4 separate regions of the Homo sapiens genome follow, and all the other regions are linked to region 4. The links are contacts of gene promoters, found by promoter capture Hi-C in human tissues and cell types (Jung and others, 2019). All regions are on one chromosome and are shown on one strand. Each heading gives the region's core, a stretch centred on a gene start or on the middle of the fragment in contact. The rest is flanking DNA. Distances are from core to core; before and after follow the strand shown. Region 1 overlaps DIRC3 (disrupted in renal carcinoma 3). Region 2 overlaps DIRC3 (disrupted in renal carcinoma 3). Region 3 has its middle 59 kb from the start of DIRC3-AS1. Region 4 holds the start of IGFBP2 (insulin like growth factor binding protein 2).

What was found. Contacts are between HindIII fragments. The study calls those that stand out against the background at their distance.
Region 1: a contact is called between a fragment that was not itself captured here and the fragment with the promoter of IGFBP2 in region 4, in 2 of the 25 tissues and cell types used here (adrenal gland and aorta).
Region 2: a fragment that was not itself captured here is called in contact with the fragment with the promoter of IGFBP2 in region 4 in 3 of the 25 tissues and cell types used here (adrenal gland, heart right ventricle and mesenchymal stem cells).
Region 3: a contact is called between a fragment that was not itself captured here and the fragment with the promoter of IGFBP2 in region 4, in 2 of the 25 tissues and cell types used here (hippocampus and neural progenitor cells).

What each region holds. Positions count from the first base shown.
Region 1 is chr2:217,359,763-217,362,462 of GRCh38, reverse strand. All of the region lies in intron 8 of DIRC3 (disrupted in renal carcinoma 3), which reads left to right. Among named protein-coding and RNA genes, the nearest start is that of DIRC3-AS1, 78 kb to the right of the region's middle. The HindIII fragment of the contact is 5,085 bases long and covers 1-2,700 here.
Region 2 is chr2:217,554,436-217,557,135 of GRCh38, reverse strand. The region is part of intron 2 of DIRC3 (disrupted in renal carcinoma 3); the gene reads left to right. Among named protein-coding and RNA genes, the nearest start is that of DIRC3, 230 kb to the left of the region's middle. RefSeq lists an enhancer at 1,463-2,063. The HindIII fragment of the contact is 3,683 bases long and covers 1-2,700 here.
Region 3 is chr2:217,221,889-217,224,588 of GRCh38, reverse strand. No RefSeq gene overlaps it. Among named protein-coding and RNA genes, the nearest start is that of DIRC3-AS1, 59 kb to the left of the region's middle. RefSeq lists an enhancer at 27-1,226. The HindIII fragment of the contact is 4,414 bases long and covers 1-2,700 here.
Region 4 is chr2:216,631,970-216,634,669 of GRCh38, reverse strand. It overlaps IGFBP2 (insulin like growth factor binding protein 2), which reads right to left and starts at 1,250. Exons shown (of 4, transcript NM_000597.3): 1 at 705-1,250. The coding sequence starts at 1,146. The HindIII fragment of the contact is 9,313 bases long and covers 1-2,700 here.

The DNA.
Region 1 (2,700 bases), core at 3-2,502, 730 kb before region 4:
GCCAACCACTTGTATTTGGCAAGAGCAGATATGGAAGCCTCTGGACTTGGAGCACTGGAACCCAGAGAAAATTTCAGTTAAGCTGTTCGGTGGGCTCAAGTTGGAATTGAGAGATGCATGTTCAAGGTTCATCCAGCCCAAGATGTAGATGTAGAACAGGAATGGTTTCAAATGGTCTTTTCAGAAAAAGGAAATGTCAAGACAGCCCCCCAGGAATATACAGACTCCAGGCTGATGGGACAGTAAGAGGAGTATCTGAGCTAGATGCTAAGGCTGGTTTCCTCTGTTGAACTAGATAATCTCTGAGGTCCAGAAAATAGAAGTAGTTTATCTAAGGGCACACGACTGGTTAGTTGATGGGCTGGGATTCATACCTAAGTTCACTCATTCATCCATTCATTCATTAGCCAATGGCTACCAAATGTGGCCTGTTCTGGGCTGGATGTTGTGTGCTTCAGTCTACTGACACCCTGCCCAATTCTCTTCCTCACAAGTCATGACAATTTGATTTCTATTGAATGCACAGAATCAGCAAAGCCATACACTTCTTTCCTTGCCAAACCTTTCTTCTTTTTGTTAAGGTAATAAGGTGGGGAAAAAAAGCATAGAGGATAGACGTTTTTAATTTGAAATGAGAGTAGTGGTCATGAGTTTTTGAATAAGGCCTCTATAAGTATTCTATAACTATCCCCAAAATAGCCAGAGTTGCTTCAGCCAGGCCCACTCCATCAACAAAGGAGTCTGAGGTGCTTGCCAGGGAGTGGGAGCCTCTCAGAGCTGGAGGGATAGACTCAGAGAGGATGTGCAAATCTGAGTTCTGGAGAAGTATCTCAGAAAGAATCAACTTTTGCACTAATGCCTGGCAAGTGAAAGCTGTTCTATAAATAATATCTCTTTCCTCTTTGGTACAGCTTTTAGTTTAGTCGTTATATATTTTCTTTTTCTTACTCAGTTGCTCCCTTGGTTGTATATGATTTCTGCACCCAAAATGAACTTTTGAGGTTTTAATATATACATAGGGGTGTATCTGTGTCAGTGAGGGGAGATGTTGTAGCCTTGTTTTTAGAGTAGCTGGGGCTGGACGAGGTCAGCTGAATTTTTGAGAGTTCAGGTCAAGGCCCTCCAACTGGCAGGGAGCAGTCACACCCTCCAGGCTCCCCAGCCAAGTGCATGCTCCTCTGAAAGTCACTGAGCTGAAGATAAACATGGAGCCCATAATAGCTTTTTCACTTGATCTCCTTTATTACATGTTCCACACTTTAAATTCCTTTGCTACACTCCTGTATTCTTTTGGATCTTTCAGAACAAACATTGAAGTAGGCAAAAAAAAAAAAAAAAAGAAGCAAACTGCCCTCTTCCCTCCACCCTTCCCATCCTTTCTAAGTGAGTCACTTCGACTGGGACAATTAATCTTAATCAGGACGGTATGACAGCAGAAAAAAAGACATCCGCAGTGAAGCACTTTGGTGCCAAAGATTGGTGAGGCAACCAGTTCCTTCCTCTAGGCTGTGAAGGGGGCAATGTAGAAATGATTTGGTTGTTTTAAAAATAGCATGTCACAAAATCAGAGCTGCCTGTATCTTCAGGGTGGGCAGCAGGGATGGGGTGGTGTAATGCCTGTGCTAACCACTGAGTGTAAGCAGGCACTTTAAATATTGTTGGCTGGAAGGTCATACAGGCCACCAAGGCCCCAATGATCAACTCCACCTTCTCCAGGGGACATTGAGGACAAATAATTCCTCGTATTTGCCCTGGTGTTTTTCTCCATAAAACTCAGAGCTTCCATGCTAGTATCCTTAACCATTATCCTCATTTTCTGACAGGTGCAATTACTCATCTCCTGTCCTCTGCCCATCTCCTGTTTTGTTTTTCTCTGCATGGGTCATACTTTCCAATAAGCCATGGCTACACCTGGTACCCTAGAAAGGTTTTAGTCAACGAAGTGTACCTATTGCAGACAGACTCAGCAAGTCCTGGAATGACCAGGAGGAACCACTTCATCCCCTTATGAATGCAGTCTCATCTTTTCATTTGCAATTAGCTGATCGAGTCCTCATTAGCAGGAGGACTAGTGTTACTCTTTTGAGGTCCAAGAACTGCCGGGACACAGTCCAAAGTGCACAGTCCTGCTTCCAAATACAGGGCTGAGAGGGAACAAGAGCTTCTGAGCTGCCCAATTATGGGTGAGTATTGTTTCAGTTCCTTCTGCAGGTGCCTTTGTTAAAAACTGCCCTAAAGCAGACTGATGGATGCCTCTCCACTGCCATGGTCATGTCCTTGTTGGCCTGGATACAGGCATAGACCACAGTGGTTTCAAGGCTGCACATAGGTATCAAGGTTCCAACCCTAATGAAACAAGATGCAAAAAAGACTGAATCAGAGTTGGTGGGGTAGTGATAAAAGGAACTCGCAGTCATTCGGGGTGAGTTCTGCCCGCCCCTGGGAGAATGGTCTCCTTTCCTTCCAGCAGACTTCGGTTGGGACCATCCCAGTCCTCCTACAGTTCTAATAAGGTCTCTCTTGAGACGGTTCTTTAGCCCCATTGTGAATTTGCCTTTCTCCTTTGCAAATATTGTGAAAAGTAACAGGCCATCAGTTTCTTTACCTCTAAGGGAATTCTCTCCTCTTATTTTCCCTATGTTCTGCTCCCTGGTGTCTGGCTGCCTTCGGTTCTATATAAGGAGTCTGACCTAATAATTT
Region 2 (2,700 bases), core at 6-2,505, 920 kb before region 4:
AGGGTGACAAAGCCCTGTTGCTGGTATGAGAAAGTCAAACCTATATTCAAAATGTATGCCAAGGCAACATAAAATGGTAAGAATTAACTACGGTCCGTATCTGCAACTGGTCTACACAGGACGTATAAAAGCCCAGCCTTATCAAATTCTAAACAACTCAGAAGGACCATCTCGCTTGTAGAGCTCCCTACAGGGTGGGTTGAGGTCTTTGCTGCAGCTGCATTGTGGTTCAGCTTCTCCCTCTGTTCAGTGTTGCTTCTTTTCCTCTCCTGTAGGTGTTGAGGTTGGGAGTGTTCCTGTCAATTCACATGTTCAACTCTGAGTCTGCTTCCCCGGAAAACTGATGTATGGCATGTAGTAACGCACTATTATTATTGACATGTAGATTTTGAGCAACTACCCTATGCCCCCTTGCACTTCAGCTACAGATGTGTAGTTCGTGCAGGTTGTATGGGAGCATCTAGCTAAATAAATCAAATGAGGGCTGAAATCCGTTCTGCACAACACTGCCGAAGCTGTTTGCCCTGGCATGGGGTTACCTTTTTTCTAATTTACGCAAAGTCTCTGCATGAGCTCATCAGCCCTGCTGTGGGCACTTTATTTTCAGTGAAGTGTCCCCAAGGAAGAAGCAGAAAGAAAAACCAAAATGCCTGGGATGAAGTTGCAGCATCTTCAGGAAAGTTAAGATTAGGTTGCAGCTTCTCAGAGACTCCAAGAAGATGACATTGAAGTTCACGTGAAACAAACCTCCTCTATCAGCCCCAAAGTGTTTTGCTTATGTTTCTTATTTCATCTTGGCTGGTCTTATTCACTGGAGTGTAGGCAGTTAGGGGTAACTTAGTAGGGATGGGACTTGCATCTAATTCTAAATATTATCCTCCTGCTCAAGAGATTACTTTTTCTTCCCTTGAAATTCAAAAGCCAGTTCTGCCTTTTCATGGTTCCTGGAGAAGACTGTTAGAATACCATTCATTCATCTTTAATTGTCTCATTTTCTAAGAAAATGAACTTGGGGAGGAAAGTGACATTCTCCAAGCCCTGTGGCTATCTAGTTACAGACTCTAGGTCAATTGCCTGACTTCTTGTTTAGAGCTCCTACTACAAAGCTCTATCAGGCTTCAGCCCCACTGAAGCACTCTGGATGGTGAAGAAGTTTCCAGGGAGCTGGAAGGGGCAACAGCAGTTTCCCCAGCAGACCCTGCTCCTCTTCCTCTTGACAATCCTAGAAGAGCACTGGCAGTGGGTGTGCTCCCTTCTCTGCTTGGCTCTCAGTAAACTTCTGAGCTCCCAGAGAAGGCTCTGCAGAGGCCACAGGGTGCAGACAGAGCTGTGCCTTTGATGTGGCTCCAGAGAGAGGCCACTCTCCTTGACCAGTGGCTGGAGCTCTATTTTATGTAGACATTTCCCATCTTTCCTTTTCATAAAACATTCCTGCAGGAGATAAAGTATTGTACATTTATAGTTTCGGCTTGCCAAGAACATCTCACTAGCTCATCTCATAAATCCTACCAAGCTTCCCTCCAGCAGCAAGTCATAGCCAGTCCTGCCAGGCCTGGGGCAGGCAGGATCACTGACGGTCCAGCCCACGGACATCAGGAGGCCACTCTGCACCCTTGGGAGTTTCTGTCTCCTCGTCCTTCCTGCCCTCTGAACTTAGAGTCTCAGCTTTCCCACAATCAACTCCTACCTCCAGAGATAATTTATATTCATTCTCTCTCTGCCTGTCCCCACCCCACCCAGCATTCCACCCTGCTTTGTTATTCTAAATTTACATTAAATGCAAGCTCTTTCTAGTCACTGATTCAGAAGGCTTGGCGCATGCTCATTCAAATCATAGTACTTAACTTTTTATAGATCAAAGCTTGTCTTCTTAGAAAGCCACGAGACTTGGGTAGATCCTTCCTCCACAACTAGCCGGAGTCTCAGCCTGCCTGCCTGCCTGCCTTGCAGAGAGATGGGAGGAGTTCTGGGGCCCAGAGCAGGTGGGAGGACAGACAAGCAGCCCTGTCTTCTCTTTCTACTCTCTCTTCTTCTGCCAGCACTGGGCTCTCTTTGAGGTTGGCTCTGGTCTTATCTAGATGCAAGTTCAACTAACACAAACTATTTCTCTGATTCTGAACTATTTTATCCTTTGGATGCTCTTTTGGTCTCTCTTTTTCAAGTGTTCTTTGTGCTGTCTGTCAATTACTCTATTTATTCTGAAGCCCCACCTCTGTCCCTATGTTCTTCCTGCCCATCTCTTCCCTTCCTTACAATCTCTCCATCTCACAAGACTACAGGAATAGTAGAATGTTATTGGAGGTTGGGCATTCCCAATCTGAAAATCTAAAATCCAAAATGCTCCAAAATTCAAAATTTTTGAGTGCCAGTACGGTACCATAAGTAGAAAATTCCACACATAAGGGCTTTAACACAAACTTTTTTTCATGCACAAAATTATTAAAAACATTGTTTGACATTGCCTTCATGCTATGTGTATAGGGTGTATATAAAACCTAAGTAAATTTTGTATTTATACTTGGGTCCTATCTTTGCATATTATGTATATGCAGATATTCCTAAATCTGAAAGAATCTAAAGCCTGAAACACTTCTGATCTGGAGCATTTGAGACAAGGGATATTCAGCCTGTATCAGAGTTACTTTCAAGGTGAAGCCAGAGACTCTCATGTCACAGGAGAAGAATCCGAGGTCGGCAGGG
Region 3 (2,700 bases), core at 95-2,594, 590 kb before region 4:
CAGTTTGCCTGAAGGGCTTAACTGGGGTTAGGGGATCTGTTTGCAAGATGGCTCACTCACATGGCCATTGGCAAGAAGCCTCGGTTCCTCACTGACAACTAGCAGGAGGCCTCAGCTGCTCTGCATGTAGCACCCTCCATGGGATGGTTTTGCGTCCTCATGATACAGCAGATGTCCTCCCTCAGAGCAAGTGATCTAGGAGAGACAGCAAGATGGAAGATGCAGTATCTTCCAGGATCAATTGTTGTAAATCATACTTCATCACTTTTGCCATATAATATTTTTTAGAGGTAAGTCACTAAAAATAGTCCACACTTGAAAGGAATTAAGCTCCATTTTTTAAAGGAAAGTATATTAAATAATTTGTGAGCATATTTTATTTAAAGCTACTCACCACAAGTGGGATGGCCACTGGAGTCTGGAGAGTTTCAAACTGTAACTCCTTGAATTCAGCTGGAGTCAGTATAGCATAGCAGAGCAGGGTGAGATTCAGGTTCCAATGGACTCAAGGGTGCGACCTGGCCAAGACGAGCTCCTGGGAGTGCCACCTGTGCCATCTCGCAAACCCCACACTCAGAACGACTTCATCTTTGGTTTAATACTCTGTTGCCATCTTGAAATTAAAATTCTTGGTAATTCTTAGTAATTTTGTCTTTGTATCTGTGTTTTGTAAGTGAAGTCCAACGATACCATGGAGCATGTGCAGGAGCAGAGGAGATAGCAACAATAAAAGCGTTTACTGCCATTTCTTGCTGTCCTATTTGCATATAGTGTTCATAAAATCCCATGAGCACGGGATTCCGATGAGTCTACATTGCATGGGAGCTCAGAAGGGACTCAAAGCAAGCACACGGTAAGCATGTTATGTGTACAACTAAGGATGTGGGGACCACACCACTGACAGTCCCAGGAGGCCACATTTTCCATTCAAGCCAGAAAGAGGGCAAGGACATTCTAAGAAACAAGAATTAGCAAGGGACTCTGTCATATCCTTTATTACTCATGTTACTTCCTCTATTAGTCAACCACTTGCACTGAAAATGATACCATAGAAGGAAAGAGAAAGATAGGGCAAACCATAGTGCCTTTTCTTTTCAGTCCTCTTACTCATCAGTAAGTCAAAGGTAGAGAGTGTTGATAGAATGTGCATATTATTAAGAAGAAAAGTACAAATACTTGAACTGGTTTCGTGCAGTGTTTACAGTGTTCTGATAAGAGCAAAATATATATGCGTGTACAAGCTATGAAGTATAAATTGTGTGATTTCGGTAATCTCATAGGAATGAAATACTCTTAGTTTGCATTTAAAAGTGTCATTGCACAATATCAAGATGAATGGTAAATCTATGCTAGTAATTTATCATTTCAATTTTTCTTTATTTAGAACATGAAATAGCAAATTGAAAAACAACACGACCATGACAAGTCAAGGGAGACTGTGAAAGAAATAAAAAAGCTTTATATTTTACTACCTCTAATGACAGTTTTCCCCTGCCTTTTATTTCAAAAACACATTCAGTCTGTAGCATAGAATGAGGTTATGTAACCTTGAACAGTAATAGAAATGATCAAAATACAAAGGCATGGTAATTTATAGGGAGCTGAGTGTAAAACATAAAAAACAGCATTCTCAAGTCGTTTTTTCAGAAGTCCATAGGTGTTGCTTATAAAATAGAGACTACAAAGCCTTGAAGAAAACAGGTTCACAGGAGCAAGATATGGTTCAAGCTGAGAGTCCTCTGCCAAATCAGGGGGGTTGGTAAAATCTAGGGAGAGAACGATTCTAATTTCAAGAAGAAAAGCACTAGACAGAAAAAAGGAACTGAGAAACTGAGAAGCAGAAGTATTACGTTGATGCAAAAGTAACTGCGGTTTTTGCGGTTACTTTTAGTGACAAAAATCGCAATTACTTTTGCACCAACCTAATACATATAGTAGGCCCAAGGCAGTGGATCTGGTGTACAGATATTAGAGATGGATTGAAGGGAGAAAGGGGCAGAAAAAGAGACAACCAAATAGCTTAGACACATACTCCTAAGGCCAGAGCCTGGGCACCAGTAGCAGGGCTGAGTGATGTGGCCATGATCTTCAACTCAAAGAATGTTCAAAGTAGGAGGGACCCCAGAACTCATCTAATTCAAACCACTTATTATCAGTGGGATAAAATGAGGCACAAAAAGGGACATGACTTATCCAAAACTATGGAATTTGTAACAGAAGATAATATTTTAATTTATGCCTTTTCTGCTGTATCACAAAGTCAATTTATAGGTCAGATGGGAATACCTAGGATCTATACTAGAATATGTCTTTCTCCCCTAGAAAGAGAAAGTAGAAAGACGATCAGCTCCACTTGGAAATAGCAATTATGGTAAAAGAACTAGCTCAAAATCCCACACCCAAATTAACATCTGGTTCTCCAGCACTCACGAAGTTTAAGGCATGTGCTGGGTACAAGGAAAAAGCTCTAGGCTCCAAGATTGTTTTCCTGCTAGACTGGCCCCTAAGGGTCAGGGACCAAATCTGATTTACCTTTCCATCTCTAACACCTGGATAATAGTCGTCTTTGACTATTTATTTTCAATAAGTAATTATTTTATTCCTAGGGTCCCTTGCATTTCTATTCTCCTAATATTACATATAAATTCGCTGAGATAAGAGAAGTAAAGAGAGAAGTCAGTGATCACAGAGTGAATGAAT
Region 4 (2,700 bases), core at 1-2,500:
CGGCGATCGGGCTTAAGTTACATTGATTCAGCTGCTAGGAGACCCCTCGCCTACCAAATGCCTCCCTTTTATTTTTCCATTCAACGTGGTAGCAAGAGCCCTGCTCGTTCCCTATGGAGAAATAGTAGTGGTGGTTTTCATTTTTCTCCTAAGCGACTCATCCTACAAAGTACCAAGTCCTTTCTTTCCAACTCACAACCCCAGTAGAAGGAAGGGCCCCTTGGGACGCCGGTGCCTCCTCCTAGCTCCCTCTCCTCTTCCAAGGTTCCTGGTGTCACTGGCACCCCGCAGCCTCCGCCTCCCAGCAGCGATCCCACCAGGACCCTTGGGTCCTCAAGCAGTGCCCCAAATAAGATTCGAGTTCCTACTCCCATGGATCTGACCACCGGCCCCCTTCTCAGCAAATCCCTCCTCCAGAATAGAAGTCTGGGTCCGTTCCACGCGGGTAAAACTATGGCAGCAGGGATGCCTTTCCTCTCCCCATTCATCCCCACCAAATGAGTCGCCAGGGCTCTTCCACTTGCTCTAACTCCAGTTCCCCTCCCCGGGCCTGACTTCCGCGTCCCGCTAGCAACAGTCCCCCTTGATTTGGTCCAAGGTCTCGGCTCTGCCGCCCCTAAAACCGTCCGTAAGGTCCAGCCGCCCGTCGGGCTTCTCCGCTGCCCTCCAAGTTTCTCCCAACTACTTGTTCCAGACCGCGTTACCTGCAACCTGCTCCGGGCTGGCGCCATACTCGGCGTCCCGGCGCTTCTCACAAGTGCCCTCGCCCATGACCAGCGCCTGCAGGGGCAGCTCGGAGCCCGGGTGGGGATAGCAGCGCAGCCCCTGGCCGCAGCGCGGGGTGTAGACGCCGCACGCCTCGCCCTCCAGCCGGGCGCACACCGAGCAGCAGCCGCAGCCCGGCTCCCGGACGAGCTCCGCGCATGGCATGCGGGCGCCTCCGGCCACTGCGGCCACCGCGGCGGGCGGCGCAACCGGCGGGGGCCCGCAGGCGGCCAGGCGCTCGGGTGTGCAGGGCGGGCAGCGGAACAGCACCTCCGCGCGCGCCCCGCCGCCGCCGCCACTCGCGCCCAGTAGCAGCAGCAGCAGCGGCAGCAGCGGCGGCGGCGGCAGCGGCAGCGCGGGGCAGCCCACTCTCGGCAGCATGCTGGCGGTCGGCAGCGCGGCGCGGCGGGCGAGCGAGCGAGCGGGCGGGCGGGCAGGTGGCACGGCCCTGCGAGCGCGGGAGCCGCCTCCTCCGCTTCTTCCTCCTCCCTCGCCGCCGCAGCCGGGTCCTAAAGGGCCGGCTTCTCCCCGCCCCCTGCCTTCTCCCCTCCCCCTTTTGGAGACCACTCCCTTCCCCCCCGACACTCCCTCGCGCCGGCAAGTGAGTGCGCGCACGCCCGCTCGCCCACCTCCGCGTTGGCTGCGGGCTCTGGGGGTTCCCTGCTCTTCCCGGGCCCCGTCCCTCCGCACTCTTCTGGCCTGACTATGACTCCTGAAGGAGAATACGGATAACTCGCGGGTTTGGGTAGGACCGGCGTGGCGGTGGAGAAGAGCGCGTGCTTTTGTCTGCTCTCAGTTCAGTTCGCGAGGACTTCGTTTGCGCGCTTCCCCTGTGGCCGGCACTGGGCTAACCGCTGGGGAACACAAAAGACATAAGGCTCCGTTTTGACCTTCAAGTAGATTTCAGTCGGCTCATACCAACTCCTTCCATCCTGGGGTATCACCCACCACTGACACGTGGCTTGGAACAATGACTTCTTGTTGGGTGGGTCCTGCGGAGTTTCAGACCCGTCTAGACCAAGCTAGACCCAAACAGCCCCGAATGGTCTTAGTGACTATTGCAGTTTTCCAAACCTGGGAGCTCGTGACTACAACCTATGAGAACCCTAAGTGCCCCGCAAAACCTGCCCCCTTCGTCTGCAGACCCCCTCCCTTCTCCGCCCGCTAAAATAATCCCTTAGCACCCTGGGCCCCCACCTACAAATCTCGAGGCACTTGTTGCAGGACAGATCCCAGAACACTCAGTTGCAGGGGTCTTGGAGAGGTCAGATCAGCTCTCCAGGTGTGACAGACCCGCTCTGGGGTAAGGCCATTTATGGCTGTCTTCAATAATGCAGATGGACAAGCATGACCTCCTTTCATTGTTCTGTTTGATTTACTGAGTCATCTACCCAAGCTGCCCCCAACCCCCATCATTCCAGGCTGGACTCAGCCATAATCAACCATCTCCTGGGGTGTGACCCTAACAAAGACCCCTGTCAGAGAGATTCCTTGGGTGACAGGTGGACCATTAAGCTGCCTCCACCGCAGGTTTCATCTCCCTATACCTCAGCGCCCCTCTTCCCCCCAGACCCCTCCACTCTGGCTCTTTCTGACTTCAAGGCTCAGAGCCTGTTTGATTCAGTTCAACAGCTAGTTAACCCAATGGCCACCTGGCTCTGAAGGTGACCTAGATGCCTCCAGGAAGGCAAGTACCTGGTCTTAAGACGCCAAGCTGGGAAGAGTTATCGGGAAAGACTTTGGTAAGATAAAAAATAAATAAATAAATGTTTATCAGAGGCTTTGAAGAAAAGAAATATTTTGGTAGAGAGGTGATGTGGTGGTTGAGGAAAGGGGAGTTTCTTGGGTGAGTCGGAGCTGAAATTGAAGCTTGTAATTCTACCAGAGGAAATGGGCGGTTAGCAAGGGCACAGGCAGAGGGACCACCTGAAGCAA